Linked DNA regions of Homo sapiens: region 2 is linked to region 1. The links are contacts of gene promoters, found by promoter capture Hi-C in blood cells and fetal thymus (Javierre and others, 2016). All regions are on one chromosome and are shown on one strand. Each heading gives the region's core, a stretch centred on a gene start or on the middle of the fragment in contact. The rest is flanking DNA. Distances are from core to core; before and after follow the strand shown.

Evidence for each region. The method cuts DNA at HindIII sites, captures the fragments that hold promoters and counts their contacts. A CHiCAGO score of 5 or more calls a contact.
Region 2: the fragment with the promoter of SLC25A40 here is called in contact with the fragment with the promoter of RBM48 in region 1 in 2 of 17 cell types (non-activated CD4 T cells and total B cells); the score reaches 8.9 in non-activated CD4 T cells.

Annotation. Positions count from the first base shown.
Region 1 is chr7:92,526,417-92,533,207 of GRCh38, forward strand. RBM48 (RNA binding motif protein 48) reads left to right here and starts at 2,379. Exons shown (of 5, transcript NM_032120.4): 1 at 2,379-2,508; 2 at 3,060-3,250; 3 at 5,988-6,133. The coding sequence starts at 2,398. It overlaps PEX1 (peroxisomal biogenesis factor 1), which reads right to left and starts at 2,104. Exons shown (of 24, transcript NM_000466.3): 1 at 1,891-2,104. The coding sequence starts at 2,019. RefSeq lists enhancers at 1,523-1,702, 2,303-2,682 and a silencer at 1,933-2,162. The HindIII fragment of the contact is 3,452 bases long and covers 2,191-5,642 here.
Region 2 is chr7:87,872,916-87,879,706 of GRCh38, forward strand. It overlaps SLC25A40 (solute carrier family 25 member 40), which reads right to left and starts at 3,445. Exons shown (of 12, transcript NM_018843.4): 1 at 3,181-3,445. DBF4 (DBF4-CDC7 kinase regulatory subunit) reads left to right here and starts at 3,578. Exons shown (of 12, transcript NM_006716.4): 1 at 3,578-3,863; 2 at 5,138-5,310. The coding sequence starts at 3,818. RefSeq lists silencers at 2,838-3,287, 3,418-3,677 and enhancers at 3,041-3,550, 3,738-3,857. The HindIII fragment of the contact is 3,397 bases long and covers 2,021-5,417 here.

The sequences.
Region 1 (6,791 bases), core at 1,129-3,628:
CACCCCAAATAAAGTAATTCAAGTATTAACTCCCAACTTGTGAATCTTTCTGCTTTCATAATTATCTATGGCCTCTAACCCAAGAATTCTGGGAATCTATCCTAGACAACCAGAAATAAAATGATGTTTTCTAAACAAAGATGTGTTATTTTCAACGTCTGATTAAAATATAGTTTATCACTTCTAATGCCTAAAAATTAAGTACAATCTAAATGGTCAATCATAGTAAACAATTAAATAAATTATGGCAAATTTGTGCTAGAATACTAATTAACAACTTAAAATGATGACCTTTTAACAAAATAAAACACTCATAATAACATTAAATAAAAACACCAGGACACAAAACTGTACGTGTGTATACAGGACCTCATTTATGTTAAAAATAAAGATTAGAAACAAAACTGGAAGATTTGATCCAAACTGTCAACATTAGTCACCTCTAAGTTCTGGGATTATGGGTAACTTATTTTCTTGTTAATAATTTTCCATGCTTTCCAAATTTTCTATAAAACATAAATTCTATAAATTTATATAATTCATCGAGGAATAAATGTATAGATTTATGGAATCTATAAAGTAATAAACTTATTACATTGATAATTAGAAAGTAAAGTTGACCTATTCTGCTAATATGGGCTGAACAGAAACAGCAATTTGTTCCAGGGCTAAAGACATTTACATTTCAAAAAGATATGCATGAATTAATTCTTATAAGTACTTCCCGAAGGCTCAAAATTTAAAACAAAGATCAAGACCACTAAATTCTTAAACAGTGATGAATGTAAGGTAACAACTACATCTTAGGATCAAATTAGAGTTACTGTAAGAAAGCATTCCTACTATTAAGTGCAGATTTGAAAACATGTTGAAAAATCCCATCGAAGCTGACAGAGCACTGAACCAACTTCTACCTGGAACTTGGTGACAGTGACTGATTTGTCTCTAGCCATAAAGCCCATCAAAAACCAAAAGATTGTCTACTTAGTGGTAAAAAATAATAACGACGATGATAGGAGGATTCTGCTGAACTCATGTTTTCAGTGGACCAAAAATATCTTCCCCTAGGTATGGGGAAGTAACTCAAGTGGAAAGAAGGGATGCTTGAAATTATTGCAAACTCTATTCATTGCATAGATTAGCCACTGGTGGGTACCATGCATCCAGGATTTATGAGGATTTCAAATACGCCGTCCTTTTGCCCCCATAAGTACACTCAAACTCGTGAGACCATGTGCCTCTATTTTTAATTATGAAAATATGGACGCTGTATCTCCACCAGTGGTTAGAACTGTGAAACATCCTAACCACAACGTCCAGAAGGGCGACTGATCGCAGAGCTTCAAGTGATCTTAACTACGTTATGTGTTCCTAACACACTACAGCTGTGTTCCGCGTCAGCGACGCAGGGCAGAACCATCATTGTATTAACCTTTCCCGCTCATGGGACGCGGTGCTTAGTCCCCGGGAACCGACAGGGGCTCCGCCAACAACTCTGCGTCCCGCTCTCGCGGCCCGGACGGCAGCAGCGCAGGTTAACTGGAAATGGCTGGCAAGGAAAACACCTTTTAAAATAATAAAAACAAACCACTTCTCAGGAGCTTTTCCAGCCTGGAATAAGGAATATTTATAAAAACAGTGGTAGAATATTAGGACGTTTCTAGGTTCAGTTTCACCAAGTGAAAAGACCTGGGATAAGACGAGCCCAGGGCTGCACTGGACTTGTGGGATCCAGAGACTACCCAGAAGGGCCCTGCCGTCGAGGGACCCTGATCTCTGCGCGCTTCGGCGGCGCCCGGGTGGCAGCCGGTGTCCCGCCGCGTCCCTGAGAGGCTTCGGCCTCGTCCGACCCCAGGCTGAAGATCAGGTGGCTCGGGGCCGGCAGGTTACCTGCAGCAGATGCAGCTGGGCCACGAGACGCCGCGGCAGGTGGAGGAAGCAGTCGCGAGCGTTGGTGAAGGCCACAGTCACTGCCGCCCCGCCTCCCCCAGCACCCGCCAGGCGATCGCTGCCCCACATCGTCCCGGAGCGTCGCTCTGGGTTCGCCCACCCTAGCGCCGCAAAGGACCCGGGACCCGGCAGGCCGAGGACGTCGGAGCCGGAGGAGATCGATCGGCCCCGCCCCCTGCGGCCCCGCCCCCTCTCCCCGCTGCGCATCCTGCCGTAAGCCTGTAGTGGGTGGGACAAGAAAGCTTCTGTCACCCACCGCGCCTCTCCGCCGAGCCGCTCGGGGGCGGCACCTCGTTCATCAAATCTTCGCACGCAGGAAACGATGGCCGACGCTGTCGATTCTCCAGCCAATCCTGGCACTCCTTAACTCATCCCGCTCTCTTATTGGATAAAAGGGAGCTCAGTAGGGCGGATGTTGTCCTCCCTGCGAGGATCAAAGTAGGCAAGATGGCGTCGAGCGGCGGGGAGCTAGGGAGTTTATTTGATCACCACGTCCAGAGGGCGGTATGCGACACACGGGCCAAATATCGAGAGGGACGACGGCCTCGTGCTGTGAAGGTAAAGTGATTTTGGTTTCATTCGCTCTCCTCGGTAGCTTTATGTGAGTGCTAGCGCCATATGACCAGCCTACGGAAATAAAGGCACGACAAGGCTTCCGTCAGATCTGTCTCTCGTTAGAGCTGGCGTGAAGAACCCTCGGTCAGTTACCAAAGATTCTCACGACGCCTTTGGTCAAGTATTAGAACATCAACTCCACGAGAATAGGCCTTGGTTTTAGTCATTGGATCTTCTGTGTTTACAGTACTACTTGGCACAGGTAAGCACTCAGTGAATATTCGTTGAGTGATTGTTCCCAGTGACTTCTACCGACTCAATTTCTGGAAAAAAATGTCGACTGAAGGTAGTCTGTTATATGCCTTAGGTAGCCTCTCACATGGACTGTTATTCTTTATGCAGAAGGAATGGCAGAAATTTCATTTTGTGTTCTTTTGCTGACTGGGTTGAACAGATTATTTCTTGTTTTCAAAGTTCTCTTTAAAAAAAAATAGAGGCAGATTCGTCCTAGGCTTATTTGCGAAATACGTTTAATAACTCTGCATTTCTTTCAGGTATATACAATCAATTTGGAATCTCAGTACTTATTAATACAAGGAGTTCCTGCTGTGGGAGTCATGAAGGAATTAGTTGAGCGATTCGCTTTATATGGTGCAATTGAACAGTACAATGCTCTAGATGAATACCCAGCAGAAGACTTTACTGAAGTTTATCTTATTAAATTTATGAACTTACAAAGTGCAAGGTAATGTGCAAGTTAAGAAATGACTCATTTCCTCATTTCTTCCATTCATATTTCTGTCATTTTGGCCCCAAGTTTCCCTCATTCATAACTGAATTACCCCAAAACGTAATCTAGCATATCTTCCTCCAGCCTTTTTAAAAGTTAACTTTACTGAAACACTGTATCCATCACATCATTCCCATGCTTAACAATTTAATGTCCTGTAGCTTGGTAGAGTAGAAGTTGGGTTTGGCCAGGCACGGTGGCTCACGCCTGCAATCCCAGCACTCTGGGAGACCGAGGTGGGCGGATCACGAGGTCAGGAGTTTGAGACCAGCCTGGCCAACATGGTGAAACCCCCCTCTCTACTAAAAATACAAAATTAGCTGGGTCTAGTGGCGCAGGCCTGTAATCCCAGCTACTCGGGAGGCTGAGGCAGGAGAATCGCTTGAAACCGGGAGGCAGAGGTTGCAGTGAGCCGAGATTGCGCCATTGCACTCCAGACAGGGCAACAAGAGGGAAGCTCTGCCTCAAAAAAAAAAAAAAAAAAAAAATTTGGGTTTGAAGCCTGGGCGTGGTGACTCACGCCTGTAATCCCAGCACTTTGGGAGACCGAGGCAGGCAGATCACTTGAGGTCAGGGGTTCAAGACAAGCCTGGCCAACATGATGGAAACCCCTCCTCTACTAAAAATACAAAAATTAGCCGGGTGTGGTGGTGCGGACCTGTAGTCCCAGCTACTCAGGTGGCTGAGGCATGGGAATTGCTTGAACCTGGGAGGTGGAGATTGCAGTGAGCAGAGATCATGCCACTGCCCTCCAGCCTAGATGACAGAGCAAGGCTCTGTCTCAAAAAAAAAAAAAAATTCTGGTTTGACGCCAGGCACGTGGCTCACACCTGTAATCCCAGCACTTTGGGAGGTCGAGGTAGGTGGATCACCTGAGGTCAGGAGTTCAAGACCAGTCTGGCCAACATGGTGAAACCCTCACTCTACTAAATACAAAAATTAGCCGGCTGTGTTGGTGCAAACCTTTAATCCCAGCTCCTGGGGAGGCTGAGGCACAAGTATCACTTGAACCCAGAAAGTGGAGGTTGCAGTGAGCCAAGATCATGCCATTGCACTCCAGCCTGGGCAAGAGTGAGACTGTCTCAAAAAAAAAAAAAGAAAAAGTTGGATTTGATCCCAGCACTTTGGAAGGCCAAGGTAGGCAGATTGCTTGAGCCCAGGAGTTCGAGACCAGACTGGCCAACATGGCCAGTATTTTGTATTTTGTAAAAATACAAAAATCAAGCTGGGTGTGTTGGTGCATTCCTGTAGTTCCAGCTACTTGGGAGGCCGAGGTAGGAGAATCAGTTGAGCCCAGGAGGTGGAGGTTGCAGTGAGTCTTATGGGCCACTACACTCCATCCTGGGTGATGGAGTGAGACTCTGTCTCAAAAGAAAAAAAAAGTTGGGTTTGGAGTAAGTTTTCCATTTCCACTGCTTACTAGCTTCATGATCTTGGGCAAGTTATTTAACCTGTTTAAGTTTTTCCTCTTCCATAAAATCTGTATGGTAAAGGGACCTATCTACTTCTTGGGGTTGTATGAGGATGAAATGAGATAATCCATATAAAGGTGTATCCTGGTCAGAATACAGTAAACATTAGCTATTGTGGTTTCTACTGTTACTCCTTTCTGCAAACTGACTCAGTTTTTTCCAGCCTTCTATGTGACATAATCCTCTGCTCCAAAAAGGCTGAAGTATGCAGTGCCTTATCTATTTTTATATTGATCTCTGTTCTCCTCACTAATCTGCTCTGAGACCCATCCTTCTCTGGCTATTACAATTCATATTTTCTTTCTTGTGCTATCAGTAGAACTCATAGTCTACCACAAAAGCACTTGATTTTACTGGGTCTTGTGTGGTTTTCTCAGGCTGCTGTTATATGTAATTTCACTTTCTTAACCAACCTGCCAGCTCCCATGGTTAGGGAAACATTTTCTAGAGCTTTTCTGTTTTCTATAGTACGTAGTCTGGTAGGCTCTGAAGTAAGACATCTGGATTTGAATCCTTGCTCCTCAAACCAGACTATGAGCATGGCTAAGTTACATAATGTCCCAGTGCTTCAGTTTCATTACAGTGTTGTTTTTAGGTGTTAATTCAAGTGAAGCGCTTATGACATTGCCTGGCATATGGTGAAATCTCAACAAGTATTTATCATTATCCCTGGATATAGAAGTAGTTAAATTTATTGTAGTACCTGGCCAGTCATAGATGTTTAGTAAGTATTTATTGACTGAATAACATTCTTCTCATTTTCTCATTGTTATATATTTAATAGTTCCTCAGTTATTGAATGTTTTATGATTATAGTATCTTTCATCTGATTTTTAAGGCATGAATCCCATCACAGAAATACATAGTGCTGAAAAAGCTTAATTGGGTATGAACCAACTCTTCAGGGCCACAGAGAAAAGCTCCATTTTATGACCACAGTTTACATACTTCAGGCCAACCAGCTGGGTCCTTAGTTGTTTAAAGACTAGGGAACAAAGAGGCTCAAAGGGAAGGAAAGGGGAGGCTCTACGAGTACATACTCGATCAATGGGATGAATACTGTCCACAAGCAGAGCATCTTAATTCCCAATCCACAGGATATATATACACGTAGCAAAAGCTGGACTTTGCTCTTTAGATCCAGATATTGCATACTAGTTAAGCTTTCATCCCAAGTAAATCTAGATTAAAAAACTATGCTATCTTGTATTTCCATTCAGGACAGCCAAGAGAAAAATGGATGAACAGAGTTTCTTCGGTGGATTGCTTCATGTGTGCTATGCTCCAGAATTTGAAACAGTTGAAGAAACTAGAAAAAAACTACAAATGCGGAAGGCATATGTAGTAAAAACTACTGAAAATAAAGGTATGGAAAGCATATTGCTAAATGCCTCCTGTGTGTCAGGCACTCTGCCAGGTGTGTCATCATGCAATTCCCAGTCTAGTGGTAGGAGAGGCAAGTAAACCATCACAGTATTCAGTAACTGTGAACCACAGGGTTCTCTGCAGCACACTACATAATCTGGGTTGAGAAGGGAGAAATATTGGTTCATAGAAGACTTCCTATAGTATGTGAGAAGTGGCTGAATTTTAAAGGATAAGTAGACGTTAACTAAATGGGAGAGGAAAAGATGGAAAGGCAAGCCAGGCAAGATGTTTAAATGTTTAGAGGAATAAATGAGCATCATGCATTTAAGGAACTTTAATTAATACAGTATAACCAAAGCCCAAAGGTTTCAGTGAGAGATAAGTTTAGAAAAGTGGGTAAGAAGTGAATCATGGAGGGCCTTGTGTCCCATGCTAAGGAATTAAGGCTTTGACCAGAATGCAGTGAGAAGCAGTTATGATTTGCAGTTGTCAAATCATATAGTTGTCACTGCTAATCATGGAGAAGTTCTACTTTTGACCAGCAATTGGCTAAATGCCCCCACATGCCTGTTCTACCACATAGTGATGGAGAGAAATAAAGTGGGAAAACTCTTGGAAAACTTACTCAGAAATCTGGTAAGAGAGCTGTTGAGAAT
Region 2 (6,791 bases), core at 2,195-4,694, 4.7 Mb before region 1:
GTCACCTGAGACATTAACTACAGTTCCACAGCCACTAACCAATCCTATCCTTTCATGCACTTAGCCTGCAAAACTAAGAATTTAACCTTACATATAACCTTAAGCCCTCCAATTCACCAGGATAGTGAGACTATGAAATGTGAAAATTAATAAAAATAGATCAGAACACATTTCAGAAGACGACATATCAATAGTTGGCAAATGAATCAAACAGGAATGATTATACCCAAATGAGCAGGAGATAAAGGATGAATCTAAGCTAGGTTTGCTATGGACAGGAAAAAATAATTGCTGAGCCAGGTGAAGAGGCTTAGGCAAAAGAAAGAAAAAAAAAGTGATAAGTACTACAAAATTAATTTGTCTAGATTCTAGAACAAAAAATTTATATTTGGGTATGTGTGAGGTAATCTGAAAGATCAGATTAGGTCTCTGATAATCACAAAAAGTTGTGGAGTAGACTGAACAATATTATCTTCATTTATAGATAAGTAAATTCTAGCATAGAAAGGTTAACTTTTTTTTTTTTTTTTTTTTTGAGAGGGAGTCTCGCTCTGTTGCCCACGCTGGAGTGCAGTGGCGCAATTTCCGCTCACTGCAACCTCCGCCTTCTGGGTTCAAGTGATTCTCCTGCCTCAGCCTCCTGAGTAGCTGGGGTTACAGGCGGGGACCACCATGCCCAGCTAATTTTTGTATTGTTAGTACAGCCAGAGTTTCACCATGTTGGCCAGGCTGGTCTCCAACTTCTGACCTCGTGATCCGCCACCTCGGCCTCCCAAAGTGCTGGGATTATAGGCTTGAGCCACCGTGCCCAGCCAGAAAGGTTAACATTTGCCCATGGTCACAAAACTAGTTAGGGACAGGGCCAGCAATGAATAAAATTCATTTCTCTTGATTCACAGCCACATATTCATTTAATTAGATCATGATTCTGCTCAATGTTCTCCAATTTTGCCTAATATAACTCTTGAACAAAGTTTCTCACCATAAATAACCCTGCCCCCATTCACTTCTTCTTAAATGTCTACCCTTCCTCTGAAGAAATGTTTTCAAGCATATTTTCAAGATCTACTTTAAGACAAACCCTACCCTCTTACCAACAGACCTGATTACTGGACAATAAAAAGGAGGTTTCTATCCTTACTGACTACAGCCATATCCTTTCTGTGGCTACTAACAGATTTAGGTTCCAGTAATATTTTAAAAACTAACCTTGGATAATAGATTAGAAAATTACTAACTATTGCATAAAGCGGACTTCCTGCTTATTTATTGCTTGGAATTACCATCTTCAGTGCAGTCGAGGGTGAGTCTAACCGCATAGGGTGCAACTATGTTACTGTCCTTCCTCTTCACGGCAAATAAGACACACAATTCATCTTTCACAAGACCATAAAATGGGACTTCCTTTTTTAAAAAAAAGTTCCTCAATAGAAGCATGCTTAAAAATCTTTCCCACATCCTCTAAACCTTCCAAAGATCCAGTCTTCCCTTCATTATACTTTCCTACAATAACAAATTTTTTTGAAAGAGTACACTCAACCTGTCTGAACTTCAAGATTATAATTTTTATCTAGTACTGTACTTATCTCTGCCACCTACTCAAATTACCCTTAAGGAAACCAAGGATACCTGAAACGCCAAAATCAAATACTTATTTTTCAAGTCTTAACCTTATCTGTCCTGGGGATGAAGGAACTGGTGCAGTGTTCACTAGAATGATAGTAATTATGGAGCTCTTAAGGAGCTCTACTCTGTGCCAGGCACTGTACTAAGCATTCAAAAATGTTCATTTAATCTTCACAACATCCCTGAGAAGTACTACCCCCTTTTAATAGATTAAAATTGGGGCTCAAAATTACCCAGAGGCCAAGTAGTTAGTGAAGCCCATATGATTCCAATGTTTGCAGTCTCTTCCCAATTCTGTGGCATTTTCTCCATCTCTTTCACTATTTCATCAACGACGCTTATAATCAATTCTCTTATTTCACATGCTCTCCTTGGCAATTTCATTTCCTCCCAAAGCTTTAACTACATTCTATATTAGTGCTTCCCAACTTTTTAAATCTTTCTGTAAATATAAACATTTTGTGCTCTCTGTAGCTTATATTTTGAAAATAAGTTTTTTCCCATAGAAATTACAATATTGAATATGTTTGTTCAAACTACACTTCCTTCCACCACTCAAGATCTGTTAACCTCTAATGAATTGCCCCATGATTGACATCAATAGACCTTGATGCAGAAATATTTTATTGGAGAGATATCAAATCAATCTCTATTTCCTCTTCCCATGTCCACTTCTGCTAGACATTTCTCTCGAGTCATAAACATCTTTAACTGTCTAATAAGCATAGTTCCATGACTGTCGCCCCAGGCCCTTCAACATAAACCTGTCTAAAACCAAACTCTCATTTCCCTTAGCAAACCTGTTCTCTGCGTTCTCCAGCTAATCTTGTCACAACCCACCCTTGTCTATTCTTTAAGGTACCTACCTGCAAAACCGTAACGCTGATACTCTGACTTCCTTGAGCTACCAGGTAAAAAAATCAACCACTACAGGAGTGCCTATTATGGCCTGGAGTAGAGGAATGCAAAATAGTTCAAAATATCCTCTTCCTCCTGAAGAAACAGATTTTTTTTTTTTTTTGGAGAGGCATGTTCCAACTTATAAAATTAAAATATATTCACAAGCATTTTAATTTGATCTTTAATCTCTGTTTTACAGGAAAAAAAAATGAGATGTTACTTTCCACTCCTTCATTGTTGAAATAAACTTACACTCAACTAAAAGAAAACAGGTCTGAATACAATAAAAGTCAACAGGACAGCGCAAATAGCCAACTACCCAAGGACACAAAGTGACCTGGAGGCGTTCTGCGGTGGCGCTGCCGTCAAGGCCGGGGCCGCCTGGCCAGACCCTCCCTCAGACGCCCCCCGGGGCCGCCCTCACTCCCGCACGTCCCTCTGCAGCTGTCCTCAGCCGGTGGGGTCGGCAGTGACCGCGGGAAAACCCCGCTTGCTGTGCGACCCAGGGCGCGCTGAGCAGGGGCTGCGGCTGCCGCCGCTGTCCGGCTCCGGTTCCGGCCCCGGCCCCGGGCCCGGCCAGAGCTGAGTCCGGACTCAGCCAAAGCCCCTCGCCTTCAGCTTCCCAGACGTCCGACCAGTGGAAAATTAGCATACCTGGGGCAGAAGGCAGCTGCAGGGCCGGCAGTCCTGGCAAACCTAGAAGGCGGGAATAACCCTGGTGACGGGCGGGGCCGGGCTCCGGCGCTAACTGCATCCACTAGGTTTGGTCAACACAGAGCCGCGCCAACTCTCTGAGGCTGCGCCAAGACCTGAAGCGGCGGACCGAGAGCCCGGGTCTGAGACTGAGAGAGCAACGGAATGGAGGCGGGGTAGAGGCGGAAACACAACCTGCAGGGCCAGAGCGAGGCGCGAGAAGGACGGCGGCGTGAGGGGGCGGGGCGCGCAGCGCGAGAAGGCAGGCACGAGGGGCGAGCGCGAGGCGGGGCACGGCGCGTGGCGTGAGACGGGGCGGGGCGCGCGTATCGGCGCCGCGGCCGCGTGACGCGTTTTCAAATCTTCAACCGCCGCAGCCCACTCGTTTGTGCTTTGCGCCTTCCTCCTCCGCGCCTTGGAGCCGGATCCGGCCCCGGAAACCCGACCTGCAGACGCGGTACCTCTACTGCGTAGAGGCCGTAGCTGGCGGAAGGAGAGAGGCGGCCGTCCTGTCAACAGGCCGGGGGAAGCCGTGCTTTCGCGGCTGCCCGGTGCGACACTTTCTCCGGACCCAGCATGTAGGTGCCGGGCGACTGCCATGAACTCCGGAGCCATGAGGATCCACAGTAAAGGACATTTCCAGGGTAAGAAGCCCCTCCTCCGCCTGCAGTCCCTTTAATCCTTTCCTCCCCTCGTGGTTCCACCATTGATTCTTCAGACTTCTCCCGCCGGGTCCTCAGCTTCTTTTCTTCTGACCGGCCTCTGGGGTCTGAAGGAAGGAGCCCCCGTTCAGTGTTTTGCCTAAGAAGGAACGGATCCTGACCCGGCCCCTCGAGCGCTCTGCCGTTTACAGCGGCGGTCCCAGATTGATTCCCGGTCGTGCCTTCGGTTGAAAACTAGCAAACAATGTGCAGATCCGGGACCTCGCCGGGACTGCGGCGCTGTCTGCTCCCGGGCTCTCGCATATGCTAAGCCTCCGCCCGGGCCCTTGGAGGCGACGGACTGCATCCTCAATTTAAAGTCAGACGCGCTCGTGGCTTTTCGCTTCAGGATTAGATTGAGTGATTGTGGGTGGATTTTTGGTCTTACCCTTGAAAGTTTATTTTCCTTTCCTCATAAGTTGGGGGAAAGCATTGTATTTCAAACACCCCATTGCTGGTTTCAACATTACAAACAGGGAAACAAAAGCAAATTTCCATTTTCAGTCACTTTATTTGGTGAAACATTCCAGCACCTAAGTTTTTTGTACAGGTGTTTGTGTGTGTGTAGTAACTACCAATTTAAGAACAGATTGCGTTTGAAAAATTAATTTTTAAAGCAGTTGCTTGGATCTCAGATCTGTTTCTAATGAAAATAATGAAAGGTTTAGTTCTTCGTAATGGACCGTTAAGTTCTTAATACGTAGACAAATTGTATGTGAAATGGACCGTTTAGTTGTTAATATGCAGACAAACTTTATATGAAACTAAAACTTGAGCAGTCTGAAACCCTTGAGGACTAGGTTATTCTGCGTAACAGAGGATTCTTTCATCGCTAAATGAAGTTTAAACACCAGTTTTGAATGTTCAGCAGAATGGCAGATGCTCAATAAATAGTTGAGTATTAAATATCCCCATGGAGTTTACATCCTAAAAAAAGAAAATCTTTCAAAAGAGTTTTATATAGTTCCGTGCCTCAGGAATAAACACACGAATATTTCTTGCTGAGTCAACTATTATTTTACAATATGCGGTCTGTGAAAGTATATAGGGCATTTTGCCTCTATCCTAAGTAGTACTACAAAGAAATACATTTCAATGCTAATAACTTAAACTGGTAGGGTTGTAAGGATTTTTATTCTGTAATATTGTATAATGAAATATTTTAAAAATAGTAAAAGTGTCTGTGTAAAACATCTGATTCTAAACATCTTTAATAGGTGGAATCCAAGTCAAAAATGAAAAAAACAGACCATCTCTGAAATCTCTGAAAACTGATAACAGGCCAGAAAAATCCAAATGTAAGCCACTTTGGGGAAAAGTATTTTACCTTGACTTACCTTCTGTCACCATATCTGAAAAACTTCAAAAGGACATTAAGGATCTGGGAGGGGTAAGTGAAAACCGTACACTGGCATAGAAGGAAAAATTTGTAACTAGTACTTTCTACTGTGTAATCATTTAAATTTTTCATTTTGGAAAACGCTTCTATTAGCACCAAGCTTAACATTTTTATCAGCTGTTTATCGTTAACAAAAAACCATTTGTTTTAACCTTTTGTGGACTGACAGACCTTTCAGGTTTCTCTGATTAGCAGTCTAGTGTAAAGTTCTTAGAGTGTAAGACTCCCCTGTCCTAGTGGAACTGCTCATTGACTGCTTACTGTAATGTTGGAATGTCCTCCAGATAACAGCAATTTCTTGATTATGAATCTTGGGGAGCTACATAAGTTTGTCTGGACTAGTGTAACAGTTAAGAATGTTACTACAGAACAGCCATGCAAACCACAGTTAAAATTGTTCCTGAGTGATACAGATGTTGTTTCAACAGAATGAATGTTATTAAAGGAAAAGAAATTTGCATTAAGAATCTGGAATACCTTCTTTCCTACCTTATACACTGATTAGATGATTGGGAAATTAGAAAACTCAGGCAAAATTCTAGGACCTTAATAGGATTAAGGTTGATATTGGCTGAATTTTGGCAAATGAGGTAATTAAGATTTTTTTCTGTTTAAAAGGTTCATGCTGGACTTTGACTTTCTGAAGGTCTGCGTCTTTGAATGTCTAAACTGATCCTTTCATTCCCAGACTAGTAACTTTTCAATTTATTTTTATTTTTATTTTGAGACGGAGTCTCATTCTATATGGCCTAGGTTGGAGTGCAGTGGTGCGATCTCAGCTCACTGCAACCTCCTCCTCTCAGGTTCAAGTGATTCTTGTGCCTCAGCCTCTGTCTCCTGAGTAGCTACGATTACAGGCATGTGCCACCACTCCTGGGTAATTTTTGTATTTTTAGTAGAGTCAGGGTTTCACCGTGTTGCCCAGGCTGGTCTCAAACTTCTAACCTCAGGTGATTTGCCCACCTCAGCCTTCTAAAGCGCTGGGATTGCAAGCATGAGCCCTCCAGGCCCAGCCGATTCCCAGACTAGAAACTTATCAGAAGAACATGTGCTAACAGGTTTCCTGGAACTGTTAATATATTTTATTTACTTATCTCTGAAAAGTTATTCTACTTTTTTACTATTCATTTTGTTAAACTAAAACACTGTCACATGCTTGTAATAGTTGTATTTATGGTAATGATCATATGACAGCATTCTTAAAGGTCATGTTTTCTAGGCCTGCCACCCTATTGACTATACACCTATTAAGAGTATCTTAATGTGTTAAGGACCTTAGACATTGAGTAAAAAATACCCCTTCATCTTAGAAACAAAGTACTTGAGGTCCAGAGAAAGTAAATGGCCCAATTAGAGCAGTATTAGCTTCTTAATTCCCACAGCAACATAGTACCTGCACCATTCTGTTCCTCTAGCAATCAATGGCTACAAATGGCTATCTGGCTGGTAATTCACACCTGTAATCCTAGCAC